2 separate regions of the Homo sapiens genome follow, and region 2 is linked to region 1. Evidence: promoter capture Hi-C in 16 types of primary human blood cells and fetal thymus (Javierre and others, 2016). All regions are on one chromosome and are shown on one strand. Each heading gives the region's core, a stretch centred on a gene start or on the middle of the fragment in contact. The rest is flanking DNA. Distances are from core to core; before and after follow the strand shown. Region 1 holds the start of KPNB1 (karyopherin subunit beta 1). Region 2 overlaps EFCAB13 (EF-hand calcium binding domain 13).

Region 1 (6,843 bases), core at 3,445-5,944:
TCAGAAAAGAGAAACTAGCTCCCAATTGTGCCCCAATATCCAGATTTCAAAAAAGATCACCAACAGTGAAACTTAGTATTAGTTATCGTTGTGCTATGAAAGGGAAAAAGGCCAAGGTACTGTTAGCTTTTTTCTCATGCCCGAGGGCTTAACCATGCCTATACAAATTATCTAATTTTTTTTTTTTTTTTTTTTTTAAGAAATGGAGTGTCACTCTGTCACCCAGGCTGGAGTGCAATGCGCAATCTTGGCTCACCACAATCTCCGCCTCCCAGGTTCAAGCAATTCTCCTGCCTAAGCCTCCAGAGTAGCTGAGACTACAGGTATCCACCGCCACAGCCAGCTAATTTTTGTATTTTTAGTAGAGACAGGGTTTCGCCATGTTGGCCAGGCTGGTCTCGAACTCCTGACCTCAGGTGATCCACCCACCTCGGCCTCTCAAAGTGCTGGGATGACAGGCATGAGCCACTGCGCCCAGCCATTATTGTCTAATTTTTTTTTAAAGGGTTGGTGTTAAGAGTGATGTGCCAAAAAATAAGCCAATTACAATTCCAATTACATCTTATCCCATTTACTAGTGTGTAAATTAAGGAAGATGAGAAACTGAATGGGCACTATCAGTATCGAGATTTCCAGTGATAGAATATACTTCCATTTATGTCACTTAGCTGAGGGAGAAGGAATTAAAATGTTGTTATTACACAAGCAGAACCAACATGAATAGAAACAGCTCTACATGCTCCAAAACGATTTGAAACCAAGTTGGATTTAATAACCCGGCTCCTTATCATGGGTATGCAAGATTGGTGACAGAAGGAGGTACACAACCAGATACAGAAGTTACTGCCTTACAGGGCACTACTTTACCTAATGCTGATATCTAGAACCAGGAAATAGCAAGTATGATGTGCATAACCATGTCCTGCACAAGTACATATGTAGGAATTCCCCACTAGTTTCCACTCAAATACCAAGGACAAAATGATGACTGCACAGATATTTAACTCACTCCTCTTTGTGCCTTACCCATGTAAGACAGATCACTAAAGAACTTAATTTAAAAACAACAACAGCCAGGCGAGGTGGCTCACTCCTGTAATCCCAGCACTTTGGGAAGCCAAGGCAGGCAGATCACCTGAGGTCAGGAGTTCAAGACCAGCCTGGCCAACATGGTGAAACCCCGTCTCTACTTCAAGTACAAAAATTAGCTGGGCATGGTGGTGGGTGCCTGTAATCCCAGCTACTTGGGAGGCGGAGGCTGCAGTGAGCCGAGATCATGCCATTGCACTCCAGCCTGGGCAACAGAGCAAGACTGTCTCCAAAAAAAAAAAAAAAAAAAAATTCCCTGAGCTGTACTCCAGAAGTACCGAATCGGAATTTCTGGAGAGCTTGGAAATACCTATTAACAAATTCCCTAATTTTTATACAAATGTAGCACCAATTTGTACACTACTCCCATTTGCCAAACAGATTTTACCAATTATGGCACGTAATTAAAGTTTCCCAAACTGCTGCAGCCTACCTCAGTCATCTAAAAAGAATTCCAATCCATCAATGGGAATGGACAAGCTGTGTTGAGAAAGATTTAAGACAAAGACAATTTTTATCTTTAGGTAAAGTTGAGGTCCCAGAAACCTATCACACTGTTAGCTCTATCCCATGCAAATAGCAAAAGATCTGAGAAAGCGATTTCTTGTTCTCTGGGCAATATAACCAAACAGATAAGCGTTACTCACATAGTTCTTGACTTCTCGTCGAGCATTAGCATCAATAGCAAGCCACCTCTGCTGATATTGTGCCTTGATATCTGGATCTTTAGATGTCAAAGAGTTCTTGATTTGTAGACCAGCTGCAACTCTGGCAACCTGACTGTTTCCTGGATTTGCCAGCACTCTGGACAGTTCCACAAGGAAAGTGGGCTGTTAAGGGAAGATAAATTTGTAAATAAAAATATCTTAGGAATTTCCACAACTGAGGATAATTTATAGAGCACTGAACCACCAGAGGGGCGGCGAGGGGGGGAACTAATGTCTAATTTTTTTTTGATATAAGCATTTCAGGAAACCACAAAATATTTACTTCACTGACTTCTATAAAAATGTTACTTAGTGTAACAGGAAGTCTTCCACTTTTCTCGTGGAGCCTAGCACTTAATGAGGAATTACAGATTTCCCTATCAAGATCATTCTTAGTGCCCAAATTGTCATGTTAGACCCCCGAATTGCAAGGTTTCAGAGTATGGTAGTAGTAGTCAGTCTTCTATGTATACTGAGGTGTCCCAAGAACTTTTAATAATGTCTGGTACTCAATGTTTGTTAAATGAATGGCTGTTATGATGGGGGGTAGAAAATAAAACTGTTTATCTAAATTTCAAAAACCTTGGTCCCAAAAGAATGATCCAACTTTCCATCTCATGGCAGCAGCAGGGTAGCTTTTCAATCCATGGAAGGAGGTGATCTTTTATGAGAGGGGGAAATACAGATAAGCCTAAAACAAACTTAGGAGCCTCATCCTCCGTTTTATTTGTGGGCACTCAGCAAAAAGGGAACAATGAAAAAAGCAGATTTATAAGGAAAAGTGATAAGATATTTAGAAATAGGGAAAAAGTGAAAGAAAAAATCTTCAGGCAAGCTGTTCAAGCAAAATAACTTTGTATCTAATGATCAACAATTACTTGCTCCTTTACATTTGGACTTTAGTTGAGGAATACAGTGGATCCCTGAAAAGCATGTTCTTTTGTAACCTTTTGTAATCCACAGGCCTCAAAAACTACTCCCTTTGTTTAAAAATTTAGCACACACACACCTCTCCACCAAAAACCGTGCCCAAACAGCAAAGTTAGCAGGAAAAGTCAAAAGCAGACACATTTTTCTTACTGCTAACAAGCTCTGCAATCACAGCAGAAGATAATTCTTAAAAGTTTTATTAATTATGTACCACTAAAGAATGTTAAGAATGTTAGGAATAAGATAAAAAGCTTTTTGCAAAATTTGCAAAAGCAGAAACAGGAATAATACCCTAAATGGAATTATCAGCCTATACTAGTGGAAAAATCTCTTCTAGGAAAGGATAAACAGGTTAGTTGTAAAAATTGGCACATATGAAAAACAACAAAAAAATCATTCAAAGGCAGTCTGTATAAAATAAGCCTTGTCACTTTGTTGATGTTGACATTTTGCCTATATAACACAAAGGAACACATATGGTTAGTGTTACTCAGACTTAATTCCTATTACCTTTCTCAAAGATGTCAAGCATCATCCAATCCTTCCCTCTGACCCCATCCCCCAACAGGAGATGGACACCAAAGAGAAACTTAACTGGCATCTAGGCTGTTTCAACCAATCCATCCCACATTTTTATACAAAGGACCAGTCTCTAGCGGACTTAGCTTCATTTTCTCCGGACCCCTTAAATTTTAAAATATGAAAAACGAGGAACTTTCCCCTGTGATTTCATCAGCAAACAGGCCCCATCTCAAAGATGAGCCTCAGTCTGTTTTCTGGGTGCAGATCCCTAGTGATTAGGTCTCTATTCATCCAGGTCAGAAGAAAAAAAAAAAAGAAAGAAAGAAAAAGAAAAAACCCCAAGAGAGGAATAACCGAGCAAAGAGGGAAAAATATCAGTGGAAATGGGTTAAGAGGCAGTCGGGTGCCAGGCCTGGCCATGAGTACAGACCAAGGTAGCTAGGAAAGGGCAGAGCTCTAGGAAATAGGTGGGGAGAGCCACAGGGGCCACGGGATAGGAAGGAGAAGCCGGCCGGGGTCAGACAGGGCGGGCGGCCGGGCCCGGAGCTTCCACATGGCCCCTAGGCCCGACTCCCCCGCCCCCACCCCTGCTGAACACGCAGCGCCGCGCAACCTAACTTCCCTTCCCTCCCTCTTTCTCCCTCCCGCTGCACCGCCGCCCTCAGGCCGCGCAACGATTGGGCGGCAGGCAGCTCGGCGCGCCAAGCCATTGGCCAGTCGCGAGGCCCGGGGCGGGACACACCCACCGGCTTCCCGATGGCGGGGTTAGGTTGGACCGGGTTGGGGGGGGAGGGGGAGGGGGGAGGGGGACGGGATGGGGCGGGGTAGGTTCCCGAGGCCTGGGCCTCCGGGAGGGCGGGAAGGCCCCGCACGCAGGGGATGGGGACGCGGCGGGATGGGCGCGGCGGGGTAGCACGCACCAGGTTCTCCACGGCCGCACGCTCCAGGAACTTCTGCGCCGCTTCCAGCTCCAGCCGATCTAGGGGGAGGAAAGTGGGAGACGGAGCGGGGTCAGAGGGGCCGGGCCTCCCCTCCCCCACCCCAATCACCTCAGCCCTACCCCCGGCTCCTGCGTCCTACCGGGAGACACGGTCTTCTCGAGAATGGTGATCAGCTCCATGGCGGAGGTGGCGGCGGCGGCGACTCCTCCTAAGACGACGGCCCGGCCTTTCGGGCGGCGGCTCGAACTGGGGATGGGGGTTGGGGGTCGGGTGGGAAGGGAGGGTGGGGTGGGGGGCGGGGGTCACCACAAACCCATTCACCGGCTCTGTCTGGGTAGTCGGTCCGGCTCCCCTTCCTCTCCTCTTCCCTTACTTCCTCCCTCCAAATGGGCTGCTGGCGGCGGGGGAGGGACCCTGGGGGCAGCTCAGAGCGCGCTGGTGCTCGGGAGGCGGAGGGAGAAAGAAGGAAGGGAGGCTGTGAGTGAGAGGCGGCGCGCAGGGAGGGAGCGAGGGAGGGAGGAAGGCGGAGGGATATTCGGACCGGACCTCTCCGCGGAGGCGCCGCGCTCCACGACGATTGGCCGTTGTCCTGGCCACGCGGAATCCCTAACTGGCCAGGCGCTCAGCGTCGAAGGGCCGTCTCGCGCCCATTCGCCTGCTGGTTTCAAGGCCCGGGTTGGCTGGGCGGGCAGCGGAATGGAGCGCGCGGATTGGCCGAGGGGAGGGAGATTGGGATGGGGTAGGAGAGAGCCCGCCGTTGATTGGGTGGGCTTGGTAAAGGCCTTGAGCTCAGACCGGCTGAGCGCTGGGAGGAGGGTGGACCGGAGGCACGACTCGGATCCTGCGCGATTGGCTGGGATAGTAGGCGTTGATAGGATAGGGTGCCCGGGAGAACTAAGGAGAGGAGTTCGGGGTCGGGGCGCGGGAAGGCGGGAGGTGCCCGGCAACCCTAGGAGCCCGGCGCGGGGCACGATGGGACGCCCCCGGGAAGAGGCGGAGCTGGGTTCGAGCGCTGGGGCTGCGGTTGGGTAAGCGCCGTCGCTCCGAGGGGCGTGTTGCGCGAGGTTTTCGCGGGCCTGAGCGGGGGAGGGGGGACTGTTGAAGTCCTGCGCCGCGCCCACAGGAAGCTGCTTTAATGGCTAGGTCGGCTTGGTACCCTGCTTTCGGCTGGGAGGGATCCGTAAGGCCATGTGGCTCCACTGCCAATGTGTAGATGTGGAAACTGAAGCCCAGAGAGGGTATGGAACTTGTCCAAGGTCACACAGCTGGTTAATGGCTTGGTAAGGAATGGGTTCAGGAGCCCAGAGAGGGTCTGGAACTTGTCCAAGGTCACACAGCTGGTTAGTGGCTTGATAAGCTCAAGCTCTCCTGACGGCCCTTGTCCCTACAAGCAGCTTCCTCTCCAAGGAGTCCCCTAAGCCTGCTTATATGGGGCTTGAGACCTGTGCTGTGATAAATCTGACTTGCTTAGGGGTGAGCTAAGGGATTCCTCCTCTTAGACCCCCCATCCATAGCTACCAGGTACTTGACAGGATGGAAATGTTTCACCCTCCAAAAGTACCCTGTAAAGGCCCAACCTCGAACCAGAAAGAATGTGTGTACAGGAATAAAGGATTGTGGTTCTTAACCTGTTTCAGTTCTCAACCCCGGAAGAAACTCATGAATGCCTTTTCTTAGCAAAATGCATATAAAGAAAACGTGGGCCGGGCGCTGTGGCTCGCGCCTGTAATCCCAGCACTTTGGGAGGCCGAGGGGGGCGGATGACGAGTCAAGAGATCGAGACCATCCTGGCCAACATGGTGAAACCCCGTCTCTACTAAAATATAAAAAATTAGCCCGGTGTGGTGGCGCGTACCTGAAGTCCAAGCTATTCCTGAGGCTGAGGCAGGAGAATCGCTTGAACCCTGGACGCAGAGGTTGCAGTGAGCCGATATCGCGCCACTGCAGTCCAGCCTGGCGACAGAGCGAGACTCCATCTCAAAGAAAAGAAAAAAAATGTGCATACAGTATGTGGCTCAGGCCTGCAATCCCAGGACTTTGGGAGGATCGCTTGAGCCCAGGGGTTCAAGACTAACCTGGACAACTTAGCGAGATCCTGTCTCTTTTAAAAAAAATGAAGATTTTTAAAATGATAAAGGAAAAGTGTAATAATAGGGCCGGGCGCGGTGGCTCATGCCTGTAATCCCAGCACTTTGGGAGGCCGAGGCGGGCGGATCACTTGAGGTCAGGAGTTCAAGACCAGTCTGGCCAACATGGTGAAACCCTGTCTCTACTAAAAATACAAAAAAAAAAAAAAAACCTAGCCGAGCGTGGTGGCGCACGCCTATAATCTCAGCTCCTCAGGAGGCTGAGACAGAATCTCTTGAACCCGGGAGGCAGAGGTTGCAGTGAGCCAAGACTTCACCACTGCACTTCAGCCTGGGCGACAGTTAAGACTCTCAAAAAAAGAAAAAATAAATGGTAACAAAGAATTTCTTGAATTGTTTCATTTTCACAGTAATGATGTAGGGGTAATTGGATGTAGCTGGTTCATAGAGCTTTTTACCATATGACTTGAGCTTGTGAGGTAATTGCCCTGCAGTAGCCACACTGGGAAAACCTAGGAGGAAGTCTGACTTTGTTGAAAGGTTTCACAAAGAATTAGGAAAGATTGG
Region 2 (6,380 bases), core at 3,061-5,560, 320 kb after region 1:
TGGTAGGAAGTGATTGGATCATGGGGGCAGATTTCCCACTTGTTGTTCTCATGATACTGAGTGAGTTCTCATGAGATCTGTTTGTTTAAAAGTATGTGGCACTTCCCTCTTCACTCTCCCTCCTGCTGGCCTTGTGAAGATATGCTTGCTCCCCCTTCCCCTTCCACCATGATTCTAAGTTTCCTGAGGCTTCCCCAGCCTCGCTTCCTGTAAAGTCTGCAGAACCATGAGCAATTAAACCTCTTTTATTTATAAATTACGTAGTCTCAAGTAGTTCTTTATAACAATGTGAGAACCAACTTAGACAACATGGAAGCCTATAGATGGCTGTGAGAGAAGTCAGAAAAAATGTAAGAACAGCTATTTAGGAGTTAAAATTATGCTACTGAAAGAATGACCACAAATATGCATGATCCTATACACATGGTACATTATGAGAACGCATAAGCCACAGCTACATTTTGGCATTCTTAACTTGCAAAAGTATAATTCAATAAAGTAAGTTCAGAGTTTTTAACTTACATTTTTTTATATTCTGGGCTCAAACTCCTAATTTCCGGTGAAATTTCCTTCTCTATTGTTTTAGAAAACTTGATGTATTTCTTGTGGTTAATAGTTCCTGATGACAAGTCAGTTGCAAAAGAATTAGAGCCATCATCTAATAAGTCAATATTTTCCTCTGCCTGGGGAATATAAGAGCCACAATCAAGCATGTCCTCTTTGCACATACATATTAAATATGACATTCTGGGTCAATCATTCATTTTAGATTGATATTCTTTCTCAAATAGTGCTACCGAAGAGAATTTTGTTGAAAAAGGTTTTACTCACTAATGTATTATTTTTCCAGATTCAGTACATACTCTAAATAACTCCAATTATCCTTAGTGCATTATACAGCTATAAAAGAACATCATTTATGAATATGTCTAACAGTTATTGCATCTAGCACTTTTTCTTTTTTTGAGACAGGGTCTCTTTTTGTTGCCTAGGGTGGAGTCCGTGGTGCAATCATGGCTCACTGCAGCCTTGACCTCCCAGGCTCAAGCAATTCTCCCACCTCAGCCTCCTGAGAAGCTGAGACCACAGACATGCACCATCATGCGTGGCTAATTTTTTATTATTCGTAGAGACGAGGTCTCCCTACATTGCCAAGGCTGGTCTCGAACTTCTGAGCTCAAGCAGTCCTCCCACCTCAGCCTCCCAAAGTGCTAGAATTACAGGCATGAGCTACCTCTCCCAGCCTGGATCTAGCTCTTAAGGCATCAAGGTACAAAAGTTTATCATACTCTTTGCCAAGAAAGATACAAAAGTTTATCATACTCTTTGCAAAGCAGTATTTTTATTATAAACATTAACTCGATTTTAGATACAAACTAAAGCCATGATCCATGAAAGAAATAATCGATAAGTTAAACTTCATTTAAAGCTTCTGCTCTGTGAAAGACACCATATCAAGACAATGAAAGGACAAGTCACAGACTGGGAGAAAATGTTTTCAAAAGACATATTTTATAAAGAACTGTCATCCAAAATATACAAAGAACTCTTAAAACATAATAAAAAAGAACTCAATTTTAAAATGAGCTAAAGACTTGAACAGACACCTCACCAAAGAAGATACACAGAAACATGGTAAATAATGATATGAAAAGAGGCTCAACATTATAATGGGATTAGGGAACTGCAAATTAAAAGGAAATACCATCATTACATACCTGTTAGAATGATGAAATTTTAACAAAAAAAAAACTATAAAACTTTGATAAAGGAAACTGAAGAAGACACAAATAAATGAGAAAATAGCCCAAGTTCATGGATTCAAAAAATTAATATTGTTTAAATGTCCATACTTTCCAATGATATCTACAGATTCAATGCAATTCCTCTCAAAATTCCGATGTCATTTTTCACAGAAATAAAAAAATCCTAACATTCATATGGAAACAGTAAACACCCCATATAGCCAAAGCAATCTTAAGCAAAAAGAACAAAGTTGGAGGCATCACACTTCCTAATTTCAAAACAGATGATAAAGCTATAGTAATCAAAACAGAATGTTACTGGCATAACCAATCAATAGGACACACCAATCAATAGGACAGGATAGGAAGCCTAGAAATTTTCCAAATATTTACAGTCAGCTGATTTTCAACAAAGGTGCCAAGTACACACAATGGGGAAAGAACAGTCTCTTCAATAAATGGCATTGGGAAAACTGGATATCCTTCTGCAGAAAAATGAAATTGGGACATTATCTCACACCATATACAAAAATCAATTTAAAATGCATTAAAGATTTAAACACAAGACCTAAAACTGTAAAGTTACAAGAAGATAGGGGAAAAGCTCTACCACATTGGTCTGGGGAATGATTTGTTGGATAAGACTCTATAAGCACAGGCAACAAAAGCAAAAATGGAAAATGGGATTATATGAAACTAAAAAGCTTCTGTACAGCAAGGGAAACAATCAACAGGTGAGAAACAACCCACAGAAAGGGAGAAAATATTTGCAAACCTTACATCTGTTAAGGCGATAAAGGATTTATACCCAAATTACATAAGGAACTCAACTCAAGCAAGAAAACAAACTATCCAATCAAAAAATGTGTGAAGGATCTGAACAGACATTCTCAAAAGAAGACATACGAATGGCCTATAGGTTTGTGAAAAAATGCTCAATATCACTAATTATTAGGGAAATGCAAAATAAAATTGCAATGAGATATCATCTCACACTATTCTGTTAGATATTCTGTTAGCTATTCTGTTAGAACAGCTATTATCAAAAAGACAAAGGATAACAAGTGTTGGCAAGGATGTGGAGAAAAGGGAACATCTGCACACTGTTGGTATGAATGTTAGTACAGCCATTCCAGAAAACAGTATGGAGGTTCCTCAAAAACTAAAAACAGAATTACCGTGTGATCCAGCAATCCCACTTCTGGGTATATATCCAAAGGAATTGAAATTAATATGTTGAAGAGATATCTGCACTCCCATATTCATTTCAGCATTATTCACAATAGCCAAGATATAAAAGTAACCTAAGTGTCCATCAACAGATGAATACATAAAGAAAATGTGGTGAATATATACAAATGAATACCATACAGCCTTTAAAAAGAAGGAAACTGTCATTCACGATAACATGGATAGAACTGGAAGACACTATGCTAAGTAAAATAAGCCAGGCACAGAAAGACAAACACTGTATGATCTCACTTACATGTGAAATCTAAAAATGTTGTTCTCATAGAAACAGGGAGTAGAAAGATGGTTATCAGAGGCTGGGGGGTGGAGAGGTTTGGGGGAGGAAGAGGGATGGGGAATGGGAAGACATTGATCAAAGGGCACAGAGTTTCAGTTAGACTGGAGGAACAAGTTTTAGTGATCTAATGCATTGGTGAACATGGTTAGTAAATAATATATACTTCAAAATCACTAAAATTTTTTTATGTTCTTACCACAAAAAAAGTTGGTAATGATTATGCTAATAGCTAGATTAAATATTTCTATAATGTATACATAGATCAAAATACTACATTATGCCCCCAAAATACACACAATTATTATTTGTCAATCTAAAATAATAATAAAAAACTCAATTAAGAAAAAAGAATGGCAATAACCCAAAACACTGACAACAACAAATGCTGGCAAGGATGTGAAGCAAGAACTCTCATCATTGCTGATGGGAATGCAAAATGGTACAACCACTTTGGAATACAGTTTGGCAGTTTCTTACAAAACTAAACATACTTTTACCATACAATCCAACTATTGCACTTGTTAGTATTTACTCTAACAAGTTGAAACTTTATTTCCACATAAAAACCTACAATTGGATGTTTATAGCAGCTGTACTCATAATTGCCAAAACTTGAAAGCAATCAAGATGTCCTTCAGTAATTAATAAATAAACTGTGCTAAATGTAGAGAATGGGATATTATTTAGTGCTAAAAAGAAGTGAGCTATCAAGCCTTGAAAATACATTTAAAAACTTTAAATGCACATTAAGTGAAAAAAGCCCGACCTGAATGGTTCCATATTGTATAATTCCAACTATATGACATTCTGGAAAAGGCAAAACTATGGAGACAGTAAAAAATCAGTGTTTGCCAGGGGATGGGGGAAGGAGAAGTAAATAGCTAGAGCACAGAAGATTTTAGGGCAATGTGATTATTCTGTATGATACTATAATGTTGACTATATGTCATAATACATTTGTTCAAACCCATAGAATGTACAACAAAAGTGAACTCTAATGTAAACTATGGACTTTGAGTGATAATGATGTGCCAATGTTGGTTCACCAATTACAACAAATGTACCACTCTGGTACAGGATGTTGATAGCAGGGTAAGCTGTGCATGTATAGGGGCAGTAGGTATATGGTAACTCTCTATTTTCTGCTCATTTTTTTTATGAACCTAAAACTGCTCTAAAAAAAAGTCTACATATTTAAGACCTGAAACCATAAAAATTCTAGAAGACTACCTAGGAAAAACTCTTCTGGACACTGGCTTAGGCAAAGAATTTATGACTATGACCCCAAGAGCAAATGTAACAAAAACAAAAATAAATAAATGAGACCTAATTAAATTCAGAAGCTCTTACACAGCAAAAATAATAATCAACACAGTAAACAGACAACCAACAGAATGAGAGAAAATATTTGCAAACTATACATCCAACAAAGGACTAATATCCAGAATTTACAAGGAATTCAAACAAATCAGCAGCAAAAAAACAAGTACTCCCATTAAAAAGTGGGAAAATAACATGAACAGATATTTCTCAAAAGAAGATATACAAATGGTCAACAAATACATGAAAAATGCTCAACATCACCAATCACCAGGGAAATACAAATTAAAACCACAATAAGATATCACCTTACCCCAGCCAGAATGGCCATTATTAAAAAGTCAAAAAACAATAAATGTTGGTGCAGATGGGATGATGTAAATTAGTATAATTTCCACAGAAAACAGTATGGAGATTTCTCAAAGAAATAAAGGTAGATCTATCGTTCAATCCAGCAAACCCACTACTGGGTATCTACCCAAAGGGAAAAAAAAGTTGTTGTATCAAAAAAAAAACCTACACATATATGTTTATCTCAGCACAATTCACAATACCAAAGGTATGGAACCAACCTAAGTACCCATCAACTGATGAGAGGTTAAAGAAAATGTGGTATATATACTACGGAATACTACTCACCCATAAAAAAGAACAAAATAATGTCTTTTGCAGCAACTTGGATGAAACTGGAGGCCATTATCCTAAGTGAAGTAACTCAGGAACAAAAAAACCAAATACCACATATTCTCATTTATAAATGGGAGCTAAGCTATGGATCCAAAAAGGCATATGGAGTGGTAGAGATTCAGAAGTGGAGAGGGGACAGGGAAGTGAAGGATGAAAAACTACCTGTTGGGTACAATGTATACTATTCAGGTAACAGGTACACTAAAAGCCCAGACTTCACCACTGTATAATTCAGCCATGTAACCAAAAACCACTTGTACCCCTGAAGCTACTGAAATAAAAAATATTAAATAAATAAATATCTTTCTCTACAAAAAATAAAATAACAAAAAACAAAGCCTATATTTAAAAAAAAAGAAGCTATATTGCTTCTAAATAGACACCACTCCCCACCCCCCCAAAAAGAAATAGAGTTTAGTGACAATAAACGTTTAGAAATAGAAGAATGCAGTTGGAAATATTCTCTCCTGAAATCTGGCTGTTTGCTTAAGACAACTGGCGGCATCCAGTCGATCAAAGGTGCATTAGTCCTGAGTCTTTGAACCCAAAGGTGACCATGAAGATTACACAGACAATTTATAAAGATTACCAAGGAAGTTTAGAGAGAATCTCTGTTTCCACAGGATGGAAATTAACAGAACTATTTCAGTGACTTTTAGAATCTGCATCATTTGTCTTATAACAAAGGCATACCTTTAAGTTGTTTCAAAAAGGCAATTTGATTTGCTGCCTTGATGAGATGTGTATTACAAATGATGAAAGGATTCCTAAAGAGATTGAAAAAAATGACCCAAAATAGAAAGCTGAGGGGGAAAAGGGGTAGGAAATCTAAAAAGACAGAAAAACCTGTTACCAAAGGCCAAGTGAATGAAAACAAAGAGTAGAAGCTTTTGACACAGAAGAAGAAAACAATCTCAGAAACATTGTAGTAAAAGGTGAGCCATCTGTGAAGTATAAATTATACAGTCTAAGGAAAACAAACCGGTATGATACTTTAATATTAATTTTTAAGAATTCATCTTCAAAATCAGTTTATAAGGGCAAAATCAACAAAGTAGTAGGTATAAAAAGGTAAATTTTAAATGTATATATGTGTATAT

Evidence for each region. Contacts are between HindIII fragments. The CHiCAGO score rates a contact against its expected background, and 5 or more counts as called.
Region 2: a fragment that was not itself captured here is called in contact with the fragment with the promoter of KPNB1 in region 1 in 4 of 17 cell types (erythroblasts, naive B cells, megakaryocytes and 1 more); the score reaches 9.9 in erythroblasts.

Annotation. Positions count from the first base shown.
Region 1 is chr17:47,647,770-47,654,612 of GRCh38, reverse strand. It overlaps KPNB1 (karyopherin subunit beta 1), which reads right to left and starts at 4,694. Exons shown (of 22, transcript NM_002265.6): 1 at 4,329-4,694; 2 at 4,169-4,227; 3 at 1,737-1,919. The coding sequence starts at 4,368. It overlaps KPNB1-DT (KPNB1 divergent transcript), which reads left to right and starts at 5,185. Exons shown (of 4, transcript NR_171700.1): 1 at 5,185-5,217. RefSeq lists silencers at 3,674-3,723, 4,024-4,163, 4,274-4,343, 4,774-4,953, 4,964-5,013 and 1 more and an enhancer at 5,694-6,539. The HindIII fragment of the contact is 6,441 bases long and covers 2,980-6,843 here.
Region 2 is chr17:47,329,499-47,335,878 of GRCh38, reverse strand. EFCAB13 (EF-hand calcium binding domain 13) reads right to left here. Exons shown (of 25, transcript NM_152347.5): 5 at 523-683. Among named protein-coding and RNA genes, the nearest start is that of EFCAB13, 8.7 kb to the right of the region's middle. The HindIII fragment of the contact is 3,718 bases long and covers 2,452-6,169 here.